2 separate regions of the Homo sapiens genome follow, and region 1 is linked to region 2. The links are contacts of gene promoters, found by promoter capture Hi-C in blood cells and fetal thymus (Javierre and others, 2016). All regions are on one chromosome and are shown on one strand. Each heading gives the region's core, a stretch centred on a gene start or on the middle of the fragment in contact. The rest is flanking DNA. Distances are from core to core; before and after follow the strand shown.

Region 1 (6,068 bases), core at 2,882-5,381, 220 kb after region 2:
TTTGTATTTTTGTAGATGGGGTTTCATCATATTTGCCAAGCTGGTCTTGAACTCCTGACCTCAGGTGATCCACCCGCCTCGGCCTCCCAAAGTGCTGGGATTACATGCATCAGCCACCACACCCGGCCTTGCTGATTAATTTTGAGTATTGAACCAGTCTTGCATTCCAAGAATAAATGCCATGTGATCATTATATACTATTCGGCATGTTGTCTACAAAGAGGGACAGTACTGGAAGTCCTAGCCACTATACTAGGCACAAAAAAAGGACACAGGTTAGAAAGAAAAGAAGAGACTTTTCCCTGTATGAAGACAACATGATGTTTATCTACATAGAAAATCCCAAAGAATCCACAAAATGACATGAAACTAATAAGTGAGTTTAACAAGGTCACTGAATACAAGGCCAACATACAGAGATCAATTCTATTTTTTATACATTAGTAACAAATAATTACAAATAGAAGTTAAAACGATATCATTTATATTATCTCCAAAAATGAAATACTTAGGTATAAATCTAAGAAAACACATATAGAATATGTATGCTGGATAACTATTGAAAAACAGGGGTGGAAAGGATAGCAATGGAGATGGAGTGTGGGCAGAGGGCAGAACCATTTGCTTCACTCTAGGGAAGCACGCTTTACCCTGCATAACCCATGAATACTACTCTGACACTCTGACACTGCTTTTGCTTACCTATTCTTCATCTCTGTGCACATCCTCAGAATGTACACAGTCTTGACTGTTATCTATTTCTGCAATATTGCTGCATATCAAATTACACCAAAATTCAGTGGCTTATAACCATAAGCATGTATTTAGCTCACAAATATGTGGCTCAACAATTTAGACTGAACTCAAATCGGGGAATATCTCTGGTCTTCACTAGGATCACTCTATTGTCTCGGGGTTGGCTAGCTGTCAACTTATCTCAGATGGCGTTGGCTGCTACTGGGGTCACTTGACTGTTCCATATATTTTTCATATATTCACCACATATATTTCATCCTCTGGCAGGCTAGCCTGAGCATGTTCTCATGGTGAGGGCGGAAGAGGAAGAGCAGAAGTGTATACCTGTAAGTGCTTTTTAAAACCTCTGCATGGCGGGGCATGGTGGCTCACGCCTGTAATCCCTGCACTTTGGGAGGCTGAGGCGGGCTGATCACCTGAGGTCAGGAGTTCGAGACCAGCCTGGCCAACATGGCAAAACCCTACTAAAAATACAAAAATTAGCTGGGCATGGTGGCACGCACCTGTAATCCCAGCTACTGGGGAGGCTGAGGCAGGAGAACCGCTTGAACCCAGGAGGCGAAGGTTGTAGTGAACCGAGATCGCACCACAGCACTCCAGCCTGAGTGACACAGCAAGTCTCTGACTCAAAAAAAACCAAAAAACAAACAAACAAAAAACACCTCTGCATGCATCACATCTGCTAACATCCCATTGTCCAAAGAAAGTTACATGGCTAGCCTCAGAATCAAGGGGCACAGAAATATACTCTGTCTCTTCGATCAAAGGAGTTTCAAAGTTACGTGTCAAAGGTACAGATACAGGAGGAGGAGTGAATAATTGGGAACATTAATGCAACCAGTCTACTAAAATCATGGTGCGAGGCTCTAATCTTTGGCACCCTCCCTGGCCGCAATGCATTTTGTGACCTCAGTCTTCATTCTTGCACATCACTTTGATATCATCATTACTCTCCCAGCACATCCTTTCAGGATTAGCTCTAGGGCTGGTCTAAGACACAGATAGATGAATGGGCCACTGATTTGCATTCCAATCTCACAGCTCTAAGCTCTGAAAAGCATCTGGCCCAGGCTAGGCTGGTTTAGTTGAGCCGTGGGTGGGAAATAAGGGCTGTGCTCATGCCTAAGGGTCTGAACTGTTCTCTGTCGCCAAATTGCTGAGCTTTCAAAAGCTGGATGTGACCTTACCTCACTCAGACTTGTTATTTACAGCTGTGTTTCCACTAGTGAGGTCGTTTTGGGGATCTGGAGTCAAAAACCTTCCTCTGTCACTGGAAAATATTTACTGATTTCTAGCTGTGTATCTGACCATGCTAACTTCTTCTTTTTTTCTTTTTTCTTTTTCTTTTCTTCTTTCTTTTTGATGGAGTTTCGCTCTTGTCACCCAGGCTGGAGTACAGTGGTGTGATCTCAACTCACTTCAACCTCTACCTCCAGGGTTCAAGCAATTCTCCTGCCTCAGTCTCCCGAGTAGCTGGGATTACAGGTGCCCACCACCATGCCCAGCTAATTTTTTGTATTTTTAGTAGAGACAGGGTTTCGCCATGTTGGGCAGGCTGGTCTTGAACTCCTGACCTCAGGTGATCTGCCCACCTCAGCCTCCCAAAGTGCTGGAATTACAGGCGTGAGCCACCTTGCCCAGCCTGCTAACTTCTTTTTATATGCTTTAGATCAGTCATCATCTGTATGTTCTCTCTTTCCATCTGAACCAAATTCTTGACTTTCCTCAATCCTATGGCTATGTGATTCCTAAAGTGTCTAAAACAGGCTGGGCACAGTGGTTCACGCCTATAATCTCAACACTTTGGGAGGCCGAGGCAGGTGGATCACTTGAGGTCAGGAGTTTGAGACCAGCCTGGGCAACATTGTGAAACCCCATCTCTACTAAAAATACAAAAAATTAACCGGGTGTGGTGGTGGGCGCCTATACTCCCAGACACTCGAGATGCTGAGGGTAGAAGGATCACCTCAGCCAGGGAGGTCAAGGCTGCAGTGAGCCATGGTCATGCCACTGCACTCCAGCCTGGGCGTTAGGAGTAAGACCATGTCTCAAAAAAATAAAGTAAAATAAGTAAAGTGTCTAAAACACTATGATCATTTTTCTTCCATGTCAACTTATCCTAAATTACTGACCTGGTCTTCTGTAAGTACTTAATGTTGGTGAGCATTGTGCTCCAAACTGAGCGCCCAAAGTGTATACCAAAGCATATTACGGGTTGGATGATCAGACTGGACTCTAAGCTCAATCTATGCAATAAAAGCTGAATGGAGAGTAAAGCCATATCAAACCTTAAGCTAGCACAGAGAGACAACCTGACTAGGCAGAAAATGTATGAGCATTCAAGACACTGGGCCCAGTCAAGGGCAAAGTTGGTAGGAGATAACATGGAGGTAAAATTCAGGAGTCCAGATAATGTCACACATTTGGGTCCCTAAGAAGCAGACACTGAGACGAAGCTTAGTTCGCAAGATATTTATTAAAGAGCGTCCTTACAGACAACACCTGCAATGGAAAGGGAAGGATGGAGAACAGGTCAGACAGAAAAGTCAAGCTGCAAAATAGGCCCAACGGTCTCAACCAGCCTCATGAGAAACGATAGAAATAAAATGACCCTTCAGAGTTGTCTAAGGCTGGGCCAAAAAGACCAGGCCTTATATTCCCGCATCCATCAGTCACTGGATATGAGCCACCAGGAGGTGCGTCATCACCTTGAACGGGGCGACTCTGCAACTGAGGCAATCTCTGAAAGGGCCAAGAGCTGAAGGCTGCCTACCTATAGCTGTCCTAGCAACTGGGACGAGTTTCTCCTTGGTGGGAGACCTGAGAGGTGGATGACAGTGTTAACCACAGACAGCAATTTGGAGACCTTATGTTCCTTTAAAACGCTTAAGTTCCTGCTCCTATAGGTTTGCCTGAATCAATTTTTTTTTTTTGAGCCAGAGTCTCACTCTGTCGCCCAGGCTGGAGTGCAGTGGTGCAATCTCAGCTCACTGCAGCCTCCGCATCCTGGGTTCAAGTGATTCTCCTGCCTCAGCCTCCTGAGTAGCTGGGACTACAACTGCACACTGCCACATCCAGCTAATTTTTTGTATTTTTAGTAGAGACGGGGTTTCACCATGTTGCCCAGGCTGGTGTCAAACTCCTGAGCTCAGACGATCCACCCACCTCAGTCTCCCAAAGTACTGGGATTACAGGCATGGGCCACTGCACCCGGCCCTCCTGAATCAATCTTAAATGCAGGGCCCCAAGCTCAGTCTCTGACAGCAATTCTACAGTGTTTCTTTCAGTCACCTCTGAGATTGGAGTTCTTTTTTTTCCGTCATTTTTGTCCAGTCTGATTTATTATTTGGGAATCATGACATAACTTTGCAGCTATAAACACATAGAGCTTAACATGTTGTGGCAATTTAAAAACATGTCCACAGGCCGGGTGCGGTGGCTCACGCCTGTAATCCCAGCACTTTGGGAGCCCAGGCAGGCGGATCACTTGAGGCCAGGAGTTTGAGATCAGCCTGGCCAACATGGTGAAACCCCGTCTCTACTAAAAATACAAAAATTAGCTGGGTGTGGTGGTGGGCACCTGTAATCCCAGCTACTGGGTGGGGGGAGGGGCTGAGGCAGGAGAATCACTTGAAGCTGGGAGGCGGAGGTTGCAGTGAGCCAAGATCATGCCCTTGCACTCCAGCCTGGGTGACAGAGCAAGACTGTCTCAAATAAATAAATAAATATATGTCCACAAATTCTTTGATTCTTCTTCCATTGAGAAGTGTGGCTTATGCACCTTTTCTTTGAACTGGGACAGGATTGTGACTGGTTTGTAGCCGCTAGAAAGAGGAAGAAATGATGCCGCATGACTTCCAAAGCTAGGCCAGAAAAGGCGAGGCAGCTCCTGACTTCTTCCCTGGGACTTTGACTTTTGAGTCCCTAATTCACCATGTAAAAAGTTGGATTATCCTGAGGCCACCATGCTGTGGGACAGTCCAGGCCATATGGAAAGGTCACATAGAGGTGTTCTAGTCAGCACTCTCAGCTGAGGTCCCAGCCAACATTCAGACACGTAAATGGAGATACTTCCTTGTGGTTCCAGCCCCCAGCCGCTGAGTCACCCCAGTCATCAAGTCTTCCCAGCTGAGGCCCTAAACATCGTGGAGCAGAGACAATGGACTCCCACTGTGTGCTTTGTCTGAACTCCTGACCCACAAAATTAGTGGGCATAATAAGGTGGTTATTGTAAGCCTCGAAGTTTTGGGGTAATTTATTACCAAGCAATTAGGTAGCCAGAACACGCAGGATACAAAGCTTACTATGAGCAATGATAAATGCTCTGGACAGCCTGTGCACGCTTATAGAATATGTTCTGTGTGTCTTTTGGCTCTGCAGGGACCTGGAAATGACTCAAAGAAATTCTTCCTTTGGAAGAATTAAAAAGTAGAATTTCTAGATTTAAAGCCTAGTTTTTGGAGGTCTACTGTGTGCTTTGCTTCAAGAGGCAAGTTTGTGACAAATGAAGCCCAGCCATTCTAAAAAAATCCAAGCATGTAGATGCCTCAGAGGATGTAGGAAATTAGTCATTAACCACACAAGTTTAGTTCCTGATCCAAAATACTGTGTGCATGTTTTGCAATTTAATCTGGTTGGCACTGGATTTTTGTTTCATTTTGCATTGACTAAACATAAGATACAGGTTGGCCCAGTTGCGTTAGTCATAAAATATATCAAGCCATCTTAGTTAAATAGCTTTTAAAGCTAAGAATTTTCTCTCTGGATAAAATAATCTCATTTAGATAATGTTTCCAGATACCTCCAAGTGAGCGTGAATATCAGTGTTTGAGCAATCCAAATGAAGGAAGTCCTTTTATTTTCATAGCAGCTAAGATAATTTATATCATTAACAAACAGAAGAAGTGAGGAATTCCACTTTCGGTTTTAATTAGAATGTAAAGACTCATTAAATGGAAGGAACTGAAAACCACCATCTTCAACAGGTCATAATGTACCCAATGTAACAAGTAAAATGCCTCGGGAAATTGCAGAGCGAAATTTTCCTGGTGCTCAATATGGTTTAAATTCTAGGGGTTGGATTAAGGAAAATATCTACCTTATTACCTATAATGTCTCCCTACTTATTCTAATCAGATACTTTAGAGAAATTGTTGGAGATCACTTGCCAGAAACATACCTCAAGGTTTCCATCTCACCTCTGAAAAGTGACTTAGAAGAAAAGTGACTTTTGACTCCAGTCAAACTGTTTTCTTCTAAACCCTTGACGTCAACAATTTTTACTTAACATGAAACCTATATATTGCAAACAA
Region 2 (6,961 bases), core at 3,002-5,501:
ATTGTGAAAAATGGATAGCAGATCTAGTAACTTAGATGTGATAGAAATCACTTAATAGAAAACAACTTTAATTCTGATTGAGTTTTCCTTCTGCTAGGATGACAGACCATTGATTGACCTTATTAATTCCTAGGGTTCCTCTACTCCCAAGGTTGTATGTACTCTTGATCTGGGGTCTTAGAATCATTGGGTTTTTGGCTCACCTAGTTGCCCTGAGATGTCTCCATCACTGTCACTTGACCCTTCTGCTGCTTCCAAGCTATGCCTGGGGCCCAGGAAGGTTTGGCACAGTGCCCCTGATCATCTCTGTCAAGCTGAACCATGTGGCCACTTCTCTTTGACTCCTGCTCTGCCCTGACACATTGCCAGGAAAAAGAGTTCAGGTGCCCTGGGCTGCAGGATCCATAGACTTCTCCCTTTGCCCACTCCTCCTAGCCTAAGGAAAATGTCTCAGTGGGGTTGGGGGCACTAGAGTGCTGCTGCTCTTTCTTTTGCTTCTCCAAAACATTTCGTCTAAGCCCTCACACCTTCTTTATATCAGCTAGCTTTTGCTACAAAACAAACCCCTAAAACTTACATCTATTATTTCTCACAATTTGGTGGGTCAGCTCAGTTAGGGCAGGAAGGTGTAGCACCTTTCTACTCTAAGTGTGGTCCTCAGACCAGGAGCATCAGAAGCACCCAGGAGCTTATTAGAAATGTAGTCTCAGGACCCAGTGCAGTGGCTCGTGCCTGTAATCCCAGCAATTTGGGAGGACGAGGCAAGAGGATTGCTTGAGGCCAGGAGTCCAAGACCAGCCTGGGCAACATAGCAAGACCCTACAATTTTTTTTTTTTTTTTTGAGATGGAGTCTCACTCTGTCGCCCAGGCTGGAGTGCAGTGGCACGATCTTGGCTCACTGCAACCTCTGCCTCCCGGGTTCAAGTGATTCTTCTGCCTCAGCCTCCCGAGTAGCTGGGACTACAGGCATGTGCCACCACACCTGGCTAATTTTTGTATTTTTAGTATAGATGGGGTTTCACCATATTGGCCAGGCTGGTCTCCAACTCCTGACCTCGTGATCCGCCTGCCTTGGCCTCCCAAAGTGCTGGGATTACAGGCGTGAGCCACCGCGCCCAGCCTAAAAAAAAATTTTTTTTAATTAGCCAGGCATGAGAAGGATTGCTTGAACCCAGGAAGTTGAAGCTGCAGTGAGCTATGATCACGCCACTGCACTCCAGCCTTCCACCAGCCTGGGTGACAGAGGGAGAGAAGACCCTGTCTATTTAAAAAAAGAAGAAGAAAGAAGAAAGAAGAAGGAGAAGAAGAAAGAAAAGAAATGTAGTCTCTCTGGCCCCACCCTAGGTGTAATGAATCATTTTCTGCTTTTTTTTTTTTTTTGAGATGAGGTCTCACTCTGTCACCCAGGTTGGAGTGCAGTGGCATGACCTCGGCTCACTACAATCTCCACCTCCTGGGCTCAAGTGATCCTCCCGCCTCAGCCTTCCAAGTAGTTGGGACTACAGGTGCACGCCACCATGCTTGGTTAACTTTTTTTGTGTTTTTGGTAGAGACGGGGTTTCACCATGTTGCCCAGGCTGGTCTTGAACTCCTAGGCTCAGGATACCCACCCGCGTCGGCCTCCCAAAGCGTTGGGATTACAGGTGTGAGCCACTGGGCCAGGCCCACTTTCTGCATTTTGACAGGAGCCTTCAAGCATTAAAGTTTGAGAAGCACTGGTCGAGGATCTATCTCCTTTCTCACCTGTCTGGCGGTCAGCAGGCTTGTTTGTCTGGGGGGTGGGGGGCCTCAGCTGGGAGGGCTTATTTTCTGAGCCATGTTGCTAACCCAGGCTTCTTCACGAGCCGATCTCAGGGTTCCAAAGAGCAGGATGAGGGCAATTCCCACAGCAGGAGTATTTTTCAAACCTTTGCTGTGTCATGTTTGCTACTGTCCCACAGGCCAATGCAAGCCACATGGTCATCCCAGAGTCAGTATGGGAAGGCATTGCCCAAAGGCAAAACAGAGGAGGGGAATACTTTGTGGTTATTTAAAAAACCTATCACACTTTCCACTATCAGAGTTGAGGCTTTTGGAGCGGAGGGCGGGGGGTGGGGGGAAGCGGGAAACACCAGCAACTATTTGCATTCTGCCCAGCCACACCTCTCCCCTCACACCAGCACAGAGCCACCTACTTGCTTAAAAGATGAGAGGAGGCCAGGCACAGTAGCTCAGGCCTGTAATCCCAGCACAAGGCCGAAGTGGGAGGATCACTTGAGCCCACGAGTTCAAGACCAGCCTGGGCAACATACAGACCCCGGTCTCTACAAAAAACAAACAAACAAACAAAATTAGCTGGGTGTGGTCCACATGCCTGTGGTCTCAGCTGCTTGGGAGGCTGAGGTAGGAAGATCGCTTGGGCTTGAGAGGTTGAGGCTGCAGTGAGTGGTGATAGTGCCACCGCACTCCAGCCTGGGTGACAGAGCCAGACCCTGTCTCAAAGCTTTTTAAAAAAGCCAGAGAGGAGGGAAAAGTGAAAACAGAAGGGAAAGTTGTAGATTAATATTGCAAAATCATATCCTTGCTATAAACGAGATGTGTACAGAGGTCAATGCATATATGAGTTTGGTAGTGGAAAAGTGAGAGATCGTCTAACATGGTTTCTTTATGAAGTAGGCAGTAAGGTCATGTGCTGAGAAGAGGTGGGTGGGGGAAGAGGGGTATCAGAAGTCTGAGGAGACTAGAGAAGGTTTGAAATCATCATAATGGAACTGGAGACTGGGAAGTGACATGAAGAACCTAAGATTTCAGCAACCATTTCAGGTTGATGATTATGAGGTTATCTTGATGCTGATCTGTTCTGTGGGCTCCCAAAGTGCTGAGATTACAGGCGTGAGCCACTGTGCCTGGCTCACACCTGTGGAGAAATGTTTCGCAGTGGTGTTTGCAGGCACAGAGAAAGCCAAAAGCAGGGTTTGGGGGATTTTGCTAGATGAGTAATGAAAAGGCAGAGGGCACGTGAGTTTAGCTTATTGGAGGGAGTGTTATTAAAATAATGGTATGGCATCTTTCAGCTGAATATGAAAAATTGAGAAGAAAGTGGGGGTGGTGGTCAAAAAGTGGAGGTTGGAGAATAGGGAAGATTTGAACAACTGGCTGGAAGAAGAGGGGAATTGTGGAAAGAAAACGAAATGCTTGAGTCAGTGGTTTCACAGGTGGAGTAGCTTCCGTGATGAAAAAGACCAGTGGAGAGCATTGCATATGTTCTCACTCTTCCAATTTGAACACCTTCCCCTGGTGGAGATAAGTAGATATGCTTTCTATGTTTTATTAACTTTACAACACCTTCCCCAAGCTGGTGAAAGGAAGCTCTCACTTCCTTATTCATTAGCCTGATGAAACAGAGCAAAATGTATCTTTTTTGGTTCTGTTTTGAATTTTAGTAACTCTAGTCTTCATCTGCCTGTTGGACTTCCTGTCTCTTTTTCATCTATCTTTGGGTACACATTTCTTCTTACGGGTCCTTTTAAACACCGAGCTCCTGAGAAAGGTCACCATTCTACCACTTTGATTCTGTAAATGTCTTTTGCTCATAGGTGTCAGAATAGGCTGGGTTATACTGTGGTAACAACCCCCAAATCTCGCAATCCCAGGAGGTACATGGGTACTAAGAATTATTCACATTTTACAAATGACCAAACTGGGCCCCAGAGTATTGGTAAAATGTGCAGAGCCCATCAGCTGGTGAAACCCTAAGGAACACAACACTTAGAATTTCACAAAGGCTAGACTTTATGAAATGTGCTGCGTGGATGCAGTAGTATCTCCAACCCCCCTGGACCGCTCTGCCACGTACAATCTTCTATCTTTCAGTCCGGAACTCAGTAACACCCACTCCAGGGCTGATGGGGGCGCTGGATGTATAGTGGCGAGTGTTTATCTGCCTAGGATAGCGATGGCTAGGCAGGGGACATAAAACAGAAGAGGCAGTGACCTTCTCCGGGTGGGGTCTATGGCCCTTTACTGGGTACATTCTGTACACACAGGCCCCTCCTTTGCCTGAAGTCATTGATGAAGACTTCATTACGGAGGGTTTGGGGAAAGGTGGGGGTCTGGCTGGGTAAGCCGGCGTCCCAGCCCCGCTACAGCCCCGCCCAGATCTGGCAGAGCCGTGGGCGAACCCAGGCGGGCAGAAAGGCGGGGCGGGCGGCTGCCAAGCCGGCCAATAGGCGGCTCTCCGGCTGCTAAGCCGAGAGGGCAGGGGCGCCGTCAGTAGCACCACCGCCTTCCAAGTTTCCCCTTGTGGATGCGCGGCCCCGCGGCTCTGCTCCTCCCGGCGCAGAGGGGCCGGGAGAGGCCACAGGAGCGGACCTGGCACGGGATTTCTGAGGAACGGGAGAAGACTGGCGCCCGACCCGCTCTGGAGGGTCGGTGAACGATGAAGGGCCGGCGGCGGCGACGCCGAGAGTACTGCAAGTTCGCGCTGCTGTTGGTGCTGTACACGCTGGTGCTGTTGCTCGTCCCCTCCGTATTGGACGGCGGCCGCGACGGGGACAAGGGCGCCGAGCACTGCCCCGGCCTGCAGCGCAGCCTGGGAGTGTGGAGCCTGGAGGCGGCGGCGGCCGGCGAACGCGAGCAGGGAGCGGAGGCGCGGGCCGCCGAGGAAGGGGGCGCGAACCAGTCTCCTCGGTTCCCAAGCAACCTCAGCGGCGCTGTCGGGGAGGCAGTGTCTCGCGAGAAGCAGCACATCTACGTGCATGCCACCTGGCGCACCGGCTCGTCCTTCCTGGGCGAACTCTTTAACCAGCACCCGGACGTTTTCTACTTGTATGAGCCCATGTGGCATCTATGGCAGGCGCTGTATCCGGGCGACGCCGAGAGCTTGCAGGGCGCGCTGCGCGACATGCTGCGTTCGCTCTTCCGCTGCGACTTCTCCGTGCTGCGGCTGTACGCGCCGCCGGGGGACCCCGCTGCGCGCGCCCCGGACACGGCCAATCTTACCACGGCCGCCCTCTTCCGCTGGCGGACTAACAAGGTCATCTGCTCGCCGCCACTGTGTCCTGGCGCACCCCGTGCCCGGGCCGAGGTGGGCCTCGTCGAGGACACCGCCTGCGAGCGCAGCTGCCCACCCGTGGCGATACGCGCCCTGGAGGCCGAGTGCCGAAAGTACCCGGTGGTGGTCATCAAGGACGTGCGCCTGCTCGATCTGGGCGTGCTGGTGCCCCTGTTGCGTGATCCAGGCCTCAACCTGAAGGTGGTGCAGCTTTTCCGCGACCCGAGGGCGGTGCACAACTCGCGCCTCAAGTCTAGGCAGGGACTGCTGCGCGAGAGCATCCAGGTGCTGCGCACCCGCCAGAGGGGCGACCGCTTCCACCGTGTGCTGCTGGCGCACGGCGTGGGTGCTCGCCCCGGGGGCCAGTCTCGCGCGCTGCCCGCCGCGCCGCGCGCCGATTTCTTCCTGACCGGTGCGCTCGAGGTGATCTGCGAAGCCTGGCTGCGCGATCTGCTTTTCGCGCGCGGCGCGCCCGCCTGGCTGCGGCGCCGCTACCTGAGGCTGCGCTATGAGGACCTGGTGCGGCAGCCACGCGCCCAGCTGCGCCGCCTGCTGCGCTTCTCCGGGCTACGCGCGCTCGCAGCGCTCGATGCCTTCGCGCTCAACATGACTCGCGGCGCGGCCTACGGCGCCGACCGGCCCTTCCACCTGTCAGCGCGCGACGCCCGGGAGGCGGTGCACGCCTGGCGCGAGCGCCTGAGCCGAGAGCAGGTGCGCCAGGTGGAGGCCGCCTGCGCTCCAGCCATGCGTCTGCTCGCCTACCCTCGCAGCGGAGAGGAGGGCGACGCGGAGCAGCCCAGGGAAGGGGAGACGCCGCTGGAGATGGATGCCGACGGCGCCACGTAGCCTCCCATCCCTGTCCCCGGCACGGATCCGGGTAAGGTGGCCCGGGGCAAGGCAGGGACCGGGACTGGTCTTCCGGGAGCCTGGAATGGCCTGGGGAGGGGGAAGTGTAGGGGGGAGGGTACCATGCTGGATCCCATTCTATCAGATCAGGTCCAAGAGGATGGGAAAGTCCTGCTCGTAGAATTTGGTAGATTCATCGGAATCTCCAGCTTAGCCTCGCGCCTCCTTAGAGGGAGATCCTGAGATGAGAGAGGATATTTAGGCGTGACTGAGGTGGAAGCCAGGTCTCTGCATTCCCATTCCCCTGTATGAAGTAGGAGGTTTCAGAGGGCTGAGGAGAGTAGAGAAGGTTTGAAACAGTCATAATGAGCCGTGAGACTGGGAATTGACATGTGGAGTATAGGATTTCGGAAACCATTTGAGGTTGATGATTATGGAGTTATCTTGATGCCAGTTTGTCCTGTGAGGAGACTTTGCAATGGTGTTTACAGGCACAGAGAAAGCCAAAAGCAGAGAGTTTGGTGGAAAGGCATTGATTCTAACCCTACCTATCCCTAATCTTTCTGTTTCATGTTTCTTCTCTGTCTGTTTTATGCGCAGGCTCCAGGGCTTTTCTCCTGAATTTCCAAACATGCAGGCACAGTCCAGCGGCTCTTGCAACACTTCTTGCACATTGTGTGTCTCAGGCGCTTGTGTAGTGAATAGACTTGCTTTCCCCTGGCTCATGTGCGCCTCTCTGTCTCCCCTCCCCCTCCTTCCCTCTCTCATTTCCCCTCTCCCTCTCTTCCTCTTCCTCCCCCTTCCCCTCCTCCTCTCCCTTCCCCCTTCTCCCTGTAGCTGGCGTTTGCAGGATATTTGACCATATCCCATTCACATCAGGTCACAAAAGCTGCCTGGTCAGCTTCCTCTAGTGTCGACAAGACCTCAGGGTTGGGTGTCCCCCACTCCACCCCATCCGTTTGACAGATGGAGCCTTCAATTGGCAGTAGCAGTTTGTGACTGCAGGAGGAGCTTTGTGAAAAGACACTGCCCCCTCTTTTTTGTTTTTCCATTTTTGTTTTTTGTTTTTTTCTGTATATCTG

What was found. Contacts are between HindIII fragments. The CHiCAGO score rates a contact against its expected background, and 5 or more counts as called.
Region 1: a contact is called between a fragment that was not itself captured here and the fragment with the promoter of CHST7 in region 2, in 7 of 17 cell types (M1 macrophages, M0 macrophages, M2 macrophages and 4 more). The highest score is 7.4, in M1 macrophages.

What each region holds. Positions count from the first base shown.
Region 1 is chrX:46,787,279-46,793,346 of GRCh38, forward strand. No RefSeq gene overlaps it. Among named protein-coding and RNA genes, the nearest start is that of SLC9A7, 31 kb to the left of the region's middle. The HindIII fragment of the contact is 1,843 bases long and covers 3,211-5,053 here.
Region 2 is chrX:46,569,514-46,576,474 of GRCh38, forward strand. It overlaps CHST7 (carbohydrate sulfotransferase 7), which reads left to right and starts at 4,252. Exons shown (of 2, transcript NM_019886.4): 1 at 4,252-5,910. The coding sequence starts at 4,419. The coding sequence ends at 5,879. RefSeq lists silencers at 5,270-5,319, 5,440-5,499. The HindIII fragment of the contact is 5,347 bases long and covers 2,482-6,961 here.